3 separate regions of the Homo sapiens genome follow, and regions 2 and 3 are each linked to region 1. Evidence: promoter capture Hi-C in 16 types of primary human blood cells and fetal thymus (Javierre and others, 2016). All regions are on one chromosome and are shown on one strand. The core of a region is centred on a gene start or on the middle of the fragment in contact, and the rest is flanking DNA. Distances in the headings are between cores, read along the strand shown.

Region 1 (3,485 bases), core at 251-2,750:
CCTAGCACTTTGGGAGCCTGAGGCGGGTGGATCACCTGAGGTCAGGAGTTTGAGACCAGCCTGGCCAAGATGGCGAAATGCCGTCTCTACTAAAAATACAAAAATTAGCCAGCCATGGTGGCATACACCTGTATTCCCAGCTATTCAGGAGGCTGAGGCAGGAGAATCACTTGAATCCAGGAGGCAGAGGTTGCAGTGAGCCAAGATCACGCCACTGCACTTCAGCCTGGATGACAGAGTGAGACTCTGTCTCAAAATAATAATAATAATAATAATAAAAAGAAAAAGGGACTACTAACATGGGCTTGTATTATGGTGATCAGGTGGATGTTGATGGTATAGGAGGCGGGGTGGGGGGAGTTGATGGCTGCCTAAAATAGGATGGAGACAAAAATATGTGGATAAAAGAAAATAATGTGGAAGTCATTTAGGAGGTAAAATGGCAGGACCAGGACTTGGCTAGTCCTTCAAGGCTCATCTGGTGACTGGGGCATTCTTTTGGGCTGGGATCTGTGGGGCCCTCCCCGGCTAGCAACTTGGCTTTCAGAAGTAGATGCAGCCACTGATGCAGTCCACGTGCCAAACAGGGATGGCAGGTAGGGGCAGGGCTGGGCAGGGGGGCACAGGTGAGCACATGCCTCCGCTGGCAGCAGCATTTCAAAACCTGGATTTATGACTCAAGTCAGGAGGATTCCTGGAACCCAGGCATAGATTTCTGTGGGCAGTCAGTTGTTTACAGGAGATTAAGATCATGCCTATTAAAGAGATCAATTGTGTCCACAAGAACCCACACTTAATAGGTAATTGCTGCTTGACAGAACTCTACCTGCAACCAGCATAGCTAAATAAGGAACATAGGAAACAATTGTCCTGAAATATGAACACCATGTTTTTTTTCCTCCGCTTGATCAAAGAAAGACTCCAGCAAAAGGGGAAAAAATAATTAAAAAGTAAAAGTCTTACCTAATGAGGTTTAAAACAAAACTTTTGAAGCCAACAAGCAACTGTGGGCAACACTTCAAAGGGCCCAGAATCAATGTTTGTCAATAGCAGTTTTGCATCCTTTAATTTATGTCTCATGAATATAAAGTGTGATGTTATTAGGAGCCCATCCATGCCTTAATTCTGTTTGAGATTTGATGAACCAGAAGTCTATTAACATTCTGTACAAATCAGCACTGGCAGAGGCCTGTGGCACAGGCTTCACCTGATCTTTTATCCTGAGGCTGGGATGCTAGTCACGCTGTCAGGCTTCCTGCTCGGAACACCCAGCAGCTGTCATGTGCACCGTGGAGCCAGGGGGCTATGTCAGCTACTTTCTTTGGAGAGTTTCTCCCCAGAAGAGAAACCACTTCATGACTCAGCCCAGCCCCAAAGTTGCCATTTGTTTAATCAAGATAGTTAGTTTGCAAAACATTAAACATTAAACAGTATTTGATGCCTAGTTAATAATTTGCATCCTCTTCATTTGTTCCTGAATCCTTGGAGACTGACATTTTTCCCCCCTAAAGGCATAGACAACAAAAGAAATTTTATTGAGAGGAAAACACAAGTCCTTAAACTGCAAAGATGTTTGCCAGGATGTCTGATCTCCATGTTCTGCTGTTAATGGCTCTGGTGGGAAAGACAGCCTGTGGGGTAAGTGTTCTTTTCTAATATTTGTAGTTGAGAGACTCCGAAGTTTACTAGGAGGACCAAGCTAGGCTGGGAGTGATGAGAAACTTTAGAGTGAAAGGCTGGAGTTGCCAAGTTGGAGATGTTCTAACTACAAGAACCAATGCAGGCCTGTGGCTTGGTTTCTTTTGAGCAGCCACTCCCATGGGAACAGGTGTCTGACTTGAGCCATCTTGGAGCGGAGCCTCCATGAATGCATTCCAGCAAAGGAGACTGGGGCAAGAAAATGTGCCCCAGGGCATGGATTGTAATCTGTCATGGATCTCATAGACCCCTTTGAGAAGCCATGGAAAGCTATAAACTCTCTCCCCAGGAAAATATACCTATCTATTGGTGCTGACACACACAGTTTTCCAGCGATTTGTGGCTGACACTAGGGTAAGAAGCAATGTGCTATGGCCTTAGAGGGGAAGCCTGCTGACTGCAAAAGATCCTGGCAGTGGGTCTGCATAAATAGTTTGGATTTGGGGAGAAGCTTTGTGTTTAGTACTTTGTCTCCTTTTCCCTGTGACAGCAGCAGATGAGGCAGAGAAGGTGAGCAGGGGCCCAAGGGAGGTTGCAGTGCGCAGGGAAGGGAAGTCCCATCAGAGAGTCTTGAACGGGGGACTCAGGACCTTCCGGAGCAGATGACTTGTCAAGATGTTAGTTCCTTCTGTGTGCCATGGTCCAAGAGTGTCAGATGGATCTCTGTGGGCATGGAAAGAGGACCTTGCACAGAAATAGAGTCTCCTTGGAGTTCCGTGCTGGTTGTGGTCTGAGGCATGAATGTGGGCTTTGGAGCCAGGGTTCGAATCTCAGCTTTGCCACATTCTAGCTGTGGAATGTTGGGCAAGGAACATAATCTCTCTGAGCCTCAGTGTTGTCTTCTGCAAATCAAGTGCTAACCTCTCATAGATTTGGGGAGGGCCACAAGTAAACGAGGTCATGTATGTGGCTTGCAAATAAATGTGAGCTCTACTCCCTTAAAATGTCAAGAATGAACACAACTTCTCCATAAAAATCAGAGAATGCTCCGCCTTGTTCGGGAGGGGTGGTAGAAAGTGGGCAGAGGATAAGAACTAAAATAACAGTCATAACCTCTCTGTCTTATTAAGTACCTTTGCATTTTGTTCCCCATTTCACTCCATAGAGCGTTTCCTGAATGAAGCAGATTAAGTTACAGTTTTCTGATTAGCATGTTTTTAAAACAATAGCTTCTCCTTTCTTTTCCGTCAACTGTGCTCAGACACCTATCTTAGCTCTGTATTAAGTTGCCAAGTGACTCACTTCTGAAAGGGTTTTCTTTTCAAATCATGACTTGTGTGTGTGTGGTGGTTGTAATTACAAATTGTTGTCAAGCCCCTACATCATTTGATGGCTTGTTGGTGTCTGAGGCCGAGACACAGCAGAAATACCACAGGTCTAGAGAAAGGCAGGAGAAATCATCGGAGGCCCACGCGGGGCCCAGAGAACATACCAGTCGGAAAGAATTAGATCCTAAACTTTGCGGGCAAGGAGAAACGTTGACACGGTATGTTTGAAGTTCACAAAAGGATAATGGTCCCGAAAAATCCCTTTTTTGCAAACCCCATTGAATTTTTAGGGTTAGCAATGAAATTATAAGTCAATAATGGATAAAAGAGAAAATATGAGAGTTAGCCTTCAGGCAATGAGCTTAGTCAATTCCAAAGAGAGGATTCGGGGCTTTGGAATGCTTTCTTACCCCAGATGTGTGCCAGACAGGTGGTCGGGAAGGCGGCTTGTGTTCCACAGGCTGGCATACAGACATCAGGGGAAAGTGGCCAAGTCGTTCAGATGCTTTGGAGAGTTTG
Region 2 (3,485 bases), core at 502-3,001, 1.1 Mb before region 1:
TGACTGGTATTTGTAGCCCAGACCTCTTGGTAGTTCTGGGTTTATATTTCTTACTATTTATCCCAGAGTCTTTTAAACACACTCAGATTCAACAAGTACTGGTTACTTCAGAGTTATCGTTAATTTTTCAACCTTGTACATCCACTGGGTCACTGAGAATTAGCAGATCTACCACCTAAATATCTCTACTACTGAAAGCCTTCATGGTTTCTCTATCTGGATAATTGTAGTACTATTTCCTGATTCTGTTCTTCTGTCATTCAAAACCCTGTACACCATTCCATAATTAGCTTTTGAATACACTGATCTGTATATGTCATGCCATTACACAAAATCCCAGAGTCCTCATTGCCTGCTGAATAAAATCCAGGTCAATTTCTAGGTATTCTATCTTGTTCCATTGCTTCTTCACGTGTCTAATAATTTTATTATAGTATACTTGCTGTTATGGCCTCTATGTTGTTATAAAGCCTAGATTTTATTGTTATTTTTTAGAACAGCACAGCTCAACCTTTTTTTTCATTATCACTTCTCCAAGGATACTTTTTAGACATGTTTTTCCTAATCGTCCCACTCCTTCCCCTATTAAATTTTAATACCACTGATATTCTGTATCTGTACATCTGTTCATGTACTATGGCTCCTTGGAGGGCCACACATCTTTGTAATATCTTAAGATTCATCATACTCCCAAGAACTAATTTTTGCCTCTGTGGACATGATATTGCTCCTGTTGACAATGCATGCTTTAGACCATGAGAGGCTTTATTCAGACAGTTAGATAATTTACTGGCAAATCAGATTGGTCCTTTCAGAGTTTATTGTTAGACTTTTTAGAACACATTTTGAGTAGCCCTACTTTTATGATTTGGCCTTTCTTGGGTTCCTTTTGAATGACTGTAGTGTTTAATAAGTGCTCTCTCGCCTATGTTTGTTTGGAATTCCATCTCTCTGCCCTGGGCAACCTCTAAAATATCCATTCAATCCATTACTCCCCAGTAGCTGTTCTCTGTGAGACCTCGTGGGGTCCCATCCTCTACATATGCAAGTTCATTTTCAGCCAAAGACTTAGGGGACCACTTTCTCGATTTCTGGAGCTCCTTCTCTTTGTGGCTGCTTCTCACCATTACCCTGCTATGTTTGATGATGCATCCCAGCAGTCCTAACTCCAGTGTCTGCCTCCTAAGTTCAGTGACTTGCTGCACTCCCTGTGGGCTCCCCCTCCGTGTGCTGCAATTGGGAAAGTGCCTCCAGGCTGAGAGCCATGCGGGGCTCATTTCACATGTTTTTCTTCTTTAAGGAATTACGCTCCTCCACTGCTTGTTGTCCAACTTTGGAAAATAATTGATTCATCCATTTTGTCCGTGTTCACAGTTGTGTAGAACAGGAGGGTTTGTCTTGTACCAATTACCCCACCATGGCAGGAAGTGAAAGTTCAGTGTAGATTTAATGTTTCTTAATTCCTTAACAGATAATTTTATATATCAGAGAATGAAAAATAATAGTCTGCTGTTTACTGTTGAAACTTTCCCTCTCAAGGGTTGAGTCGAAGTATGCTAAAATGAATTGACACTGGACAGATTAATGGGAAAAACCAAACAAAATGTATTGTGTGCGTAAGTACAGGGGCCACACGCAAAGTAAGAGACTCAAAGTAGGGCCACATAACTGAAGCTTTTATACTGTAGTGCAGAAAAGCATAGAGATTTGGAGTGTGGGAACAGGTTTTCAGAGCAAGAACGGAGGAAGGCAAGCAAAGGTTGTCTTGGCTCTGCTGTTGGAGCCTGGCAGGCAGCAGCCCCCTGGAAGAATGGATGGGAGCCTGTGGAAAAGCTTCCTCTGTTACCTTTAAAAGTGCTGGGTGCGGTGGTTCATGCCTGTAATCCCAGCACTTTGGGAGGCCGAGGCAGGCGGATCACTTGAAGTCAGGAGTTCACATACCAATGTTCACATACCAGCCTGGCCAACATGGTGAAACCCCATCTCTACTAAAATTGCAAAAATTAGCCGGGCATGGTGGCGCACACTTGTAATCCCAGCTACTTGGGAGGCCGAGGCCTCCCTTGAACCCAGGAGGCCGAAGTTGCAGTGAGCTGAGATCGCACCACTAAACTCCAGCCTGGGCAACAGAGCGAGAGACTCAGTGTCAAAAAATAAAATAAAATAAAAAAGCATCAGACTTTCAGTCTCCCTTTCCTGTGAGTTCATCTTTCCAAGATCTGGGTAAAGCCAATACGGGTCAGGGTGGGGGCGCTCAGAGAAAGCCTGTTTTGCATTTGCTGTTTACTTAACTAATATTGATTTCCTCTACAAATGCAAATCTCCAGCTTTTCAGAGCCATTTTTGTGTTTGTAGCCCTTCTGAATAGCTATCTCAAAAATACACCAAAGAAGTATATTTTGGGGTGGCATATTTTGGTTTTCTTCATTACGGTGGCTTATCATAGAATATAATTTGTAGCTGACTAAATACCTGTTTAAAGGATTTTAAAATTCATGCGGTAATTTGCAGTCAGCATCGTGTGTGTGGGAGGGTGTTAAGGAAAGTTAGGGGTCATACTTACGTGCCCATTTATACTGTTACCATTCCTGATTATTCTGTTCACTTACCTAATTTCATTCTTATTGATTTTTTTTTTTTTTTTTTTTTGCTTCTTACAGCCTATAATTGTTCATTTTTGGCTTCTTGTGTAGCCTCAAAGGAAGTTAGGAATATTAGGTTCAGAAGAGGTCAAATCTAATCACCTTATGTTTTAGATGAAGAAATGGAGGACTGAGGAGACCAAATGACTTAAAGTCACACTGCTTTCTGGAGCCAGAATCAGAATCGAGTAACTAAGCACCCGTTTTAATGTTCTCTTCACAATCCTTTGCAACCTGCCCGCCTTTGAGTTTCCATAAAAATGTATTTAATAGTCTGTTTAGGTATTTGAAAACAACTTTTAAAAAAAAAATTAGAATTCCTGTAAGCTGTTCTTGTAATTTCTTCCTTCAACATTGATATGAGGTTAGCTAGGGCCTTCTCATGTCAGAATGTTCCAGGAAAATGAACCAGCCAAGAGGAAAAAAAAAAATGTAGTTAAGGAATTTTTCAAGTTTAAGATTAGTTTGCTTCTTAAGAAAATTAAAGCAAATTTTAAAACCCTAAATTTATACAAACAAAAAACCCTCCAAAATTGTATAAAATGTTTGACCAAGTCTCAGTAAATAGAAAAAGAAAGAAACAAGTAAGTGGTGTGCTGGTATAAGGTTCTAAAGGTTATGAGGACATGGTGTGTTGAATGCTTTTTCACGTCTCTGATATTGTGCTATGATGCTAGCACCATCTTGTGGTTGATTTATATAGTTGCATATTTCTTTTTTCTTGTAACAAAGCTGAACTTCCTTTAAGACATACACAGAAGGATTTGGGGTGAATGATTAGATCGTAATGAATGTTAAAAAGAGAGCTTTCTAGCCCCAGTCTCAAGTTCACTTCTATCCCAG
Region 3 (3,485 bases), core at 631-3,130, 1.0 Mb before region 1:
TCCTTAACTAGGTATGGTCACTTGAGAATAACTTTTTTATTCCGCATCAGCATTCATTCAGAATATGGAGTCAAAACGGAAGCTCTTTCTGTAAAGAAAGAAAATATTTTAATTTGGCTCTATACTAATCTTTGTAGCTCAGTAGCTAGGAAGAGTTTTTTTCTAGGTAGGGCTGCTTATAATTTATATAAGAAAAGGTCTTCTGCCTACAAATAAGTTTACTTCTAAGTTATTTGCTAATAAATTGATTTTCAGAACTTCTTATCCATGGAATACTAACTATATAAATGGATAAAACTTGGAGATAAACAAAATGAGATAAAAATAGCAATATTCATTTAATTGCAATTGGGATATACCTGTCAGTTTAAAAATATAGATCAAAATAGGAAAATAAGGAATTAATAGCAATGATTATATAGGTAAAATACTGGCTAGGTATTTTCAATGTAACATACACATCCTCCTTATAGTTGCTTCTTTGTGAAGATTCGATAATATGAATACAATAGCTATTATTTCTCATTCTGATAATTTATGATGCAGTTTTTTTAGGCATCTGAAACCTGACTGTAATACATATAATTATAGTCTGCCAATTAACTATAAAGTATGTTAATTTACTCTTAGGTACATAAACATTTCTGCCATGATTAGAAATGTTAAAAATTCAGAAATTAAGAATTTTTCAAAAGCATTTTTAATGTCCCTCATACAATACCCTTTGCATTTAATTCCAAATTAAATGCTTTGTATACATTCATTTCTGATTCATATTCATTTCATTCAATCAAATATAGCTAATGCTGATTTACAAAGAAGGGGCAAGAAAATTACCTACTTTGTACATTTGAGTACTTTTGGGCTATCAGCTTTCCAAGGATTACTGTCTTAAGCATTATCATTCTATTCTTTGAAAATACCGTATTTACCATTCCATGTGGCAACATTTTATTTCTTTGAAAGAGTTGAGTTCTTGAATGTAGTGATGTTGTATTTAGAGTGGAAACATTAATAGTTCATAACTTGATTGCATTTCATGAGAACCATTCTCATAAAAGGAAAAACACAACTTATAGAATAAAATCATAAAGCCTTTCATAGTGAAGTGTGATAATGGGGCAAATAAACTGTTCCAAGCTTTGATTTTGAACCCTAATACTCTCTCAGTTTCTATATGCAGAATTATATTGATCAGTGACTTTTAATAAATCCTAAATAGAAGATTCAAAATATAAAGAGTAGACTATTTCCAAATGTGGGGAAAGTTTTGTGGCAAAGCAATATTTAGCAGATAATGATTGCTTAATTTCTTAATACAAGGTTCTCTTAAGTTCTGATTTGGGCTTGCTGTGCATAAAGTGTGTCAAACTTCAGCTACAGACCAGGGGGTGAAGTCGGTCAATTTAATTCCCCAAGATCTAAAGAAGGTCGGTATCATTTCATATAGCCCTGGCAGAGCAGATCATTACCAGGCACAAATCTGTTCGTTACGTGCTGAGGGTTTATAGCAAAATAAATAGACTGTCATCATAAGTTCAGAAAATTGTGTGTTCGACCCACGATAATGTGTAAAGGGCGTTTAATAGAGTTCAGCATTTATTCGTTATCTGTATGCGAACAGAGACAGCAGTCGCGTTATCAGCTTTAAAAAAAATTCGGTAGTTCTGGGGTCACGTGACACACCTCACACACACACACACACACACACACACACACACACACACACGTGCGCACGTGCGCGCGCGCGCATGAACCCTCACATGCTCTGCAGTGCAGTTTTGATTTTAGTCACAGCAGAAGGCTTAACCACAAGAGATTCCACTGGTTCAAACCAGCGTAAACCAGATTTTTTCAGCCCACAAAGGAACAGATTACCTCTTGTATCAAATTCTGCATTGGGGGAAAAAAAATCTTTGTTTCAGAAAAGATGTTGATTATCATAACTCAACATGGTGGCATTGCACACTCTCATGTTGCCTATGATGGAGCTAGTAACTCGAGAAAATACGAAATCACGACTTACAGTCCAGTCTACGCATTGTTAATTTTCAGAAATAGGCCATCTTTTGTTTACTTGAATGAATAACTCCCGGCCTAAGCAAAGAAAAAAAAAAAAAAGAAAAAAGATAAAGATGAAAAACCCTCCCATTACCTAGCTTGGCTACAAATCCGATGTAGAGCTTGAATGCAGCCATGCAGCACAAACAAGATAGAACGTTTTTTGTTTGGAACCTATTGAAAAAACAAATGGGTAGCATTTTTAAACACTCATTGATTATGGCAGGGTGGCATGCCCCAAATGGTCTCTATTGCTGAAGAGTAGTTTTAAACTTTGGCCCTTTAAGTATCATAGTCAACCAAAGAATAGTGCCCCCAGAAAGAAAAGATCGCTGGCCGATCAATTCCCAGATCGTCTCTTTCTGAGAATTAATGTTTGCCTTTTTCTCCCATGATGTTGGGATAGCAAAGAGAAAGATTCCGATATATGATAGGCCAGGTATTTTAGCTTAAAATTTTGCTTCTTCTGGGGAAGAATTATAACTTTTCATGTGAAATGAAAAGATGATTTACTTGTATGTAACTGGATGGTTGCTGAGTGTGTTAATTAAAAATAAAGAAAGCTTCTTATTTTGAAACGATGATAATAAAGGTTTCATTTTCACTGAATGTACTGTGAGACATTACATGATAACTTATGTACCCTTTTTATAAAGATTCTTAACAGTTTTTAAAATCTTATTCTTTGGTACTCAAAATACTTTTCATATAACAAATGAAATAACAGAATAAGCTGGAATGCATACTGCCTTCCTTGAATTCGGGACAAAAACAGCGTTAAGCATTGAGATATCCGGGCTATAGTAAACATGATACTTACAGAGACTTATAGTGAACAATTCAGGCACATTTCTCCCAAAGCAATAGTTTAATTTATTGACCTGCATATGTCAAGTGTTATAACAGATGTTACAGATATTTGGATGTTTAAAAATTATCAGTCGTAGACCTGAATTGCTGAGGATGCAAATTTCAGACCTAGAATGTGGTTTAGTCTGTTACAACATAGGTTTCAGTTTCTAGTCATTGCAGAAACTGTGGTCGTCATCTCACTTATACAGTGATATTTGTAGTTTAGAATAATGTCAAACACACACACACCCACACGTACACACAATGAGCCAGATATATGGTTATATATTTTAGTTCCTAAAGAGTTAAACAGCTTGTTTTATCTGTTATATTTAAGGTAAATAGAAAAATGTTCTAAATAAGAGAATTAAAATGTTATCATAGGATAATTTACTAAGAAGTAAGGAGTGATTTTTTATTTGACTTTAGTGAAAACAAAACTGCAATATAAATGAAGTAAGAGCTCATTGCCAGTTTACAATATGAAGAAAATTGAAAACTGAAGAAATCATTCAAAAATTAAAATGAAAACATGCCACATGATTGTGGTAGCCTCTTAAGCAAAATAAAAA

The links. The method cuts DNA at HindIII sites, captures the fragments that hold promoters and counts their contacts. A CHiCAGO score of 5 or more calls a contact.
Region 2: a contact is called between a fragment that was not itself captured here and the fragment with the promoter of HABP2 in region 1, in 1 of 17 cell types (M1 macrophages). The highest score is 7.0, in M1 macrophages.
Region 3: a fragment that was not itself captured here is called in contact with the fragment with the promoter of HABP2 in region 1 in 2 of 17 cell types (M2 macrophages and M1 macrophages); the score reaches 5.5 in M2 macrophages.

What each region holds. Positions count from the first base shown.
Region 1 is chr10:113,551,553-113,555,037 of GRCh38, forward strand. HABP2 (hyaluronan binding protein 2) reads left to right here and starts at 1,501. Exons shown (of 13, transcript NM_004132.5): 1 at 1,501-1,638. The coding sequence starts at 1,570. The HindIII fragment of the contact is 3,226 bases long and covers 1-2,147 here.
Region 2 is chr10:112,468,740-112,472,224 of GRCh38, forward strand. All of the region lies in intron 3 of VTI1A (vesicle transport through interaction with t-SNAREs 1A), which reads left to right. Among named protein-coding and RNA genes, the nearest start is that of VTI1A, 23 kb to the left of the region's middle. The HindIII fragment of the contact is 159 bases long and covers 1,673-1,831 here.
Region 3 is chr10:112,529,376-112,532,860 of GRCh38, forward strand. All of the region lies in intron 4 of VTI1A (vesicle transport through interaction with t-SNAREs 1A), which reads left to right. Among named protein-coding and RNA genes, the nearest start is that of VTI1A, 84 kb to the left of the region's middle. RefSeq lists an enhancer at 1,881-1,930. The HindIII fragment of the contact is 1,484 bases long and covers 1,139-2,622 here.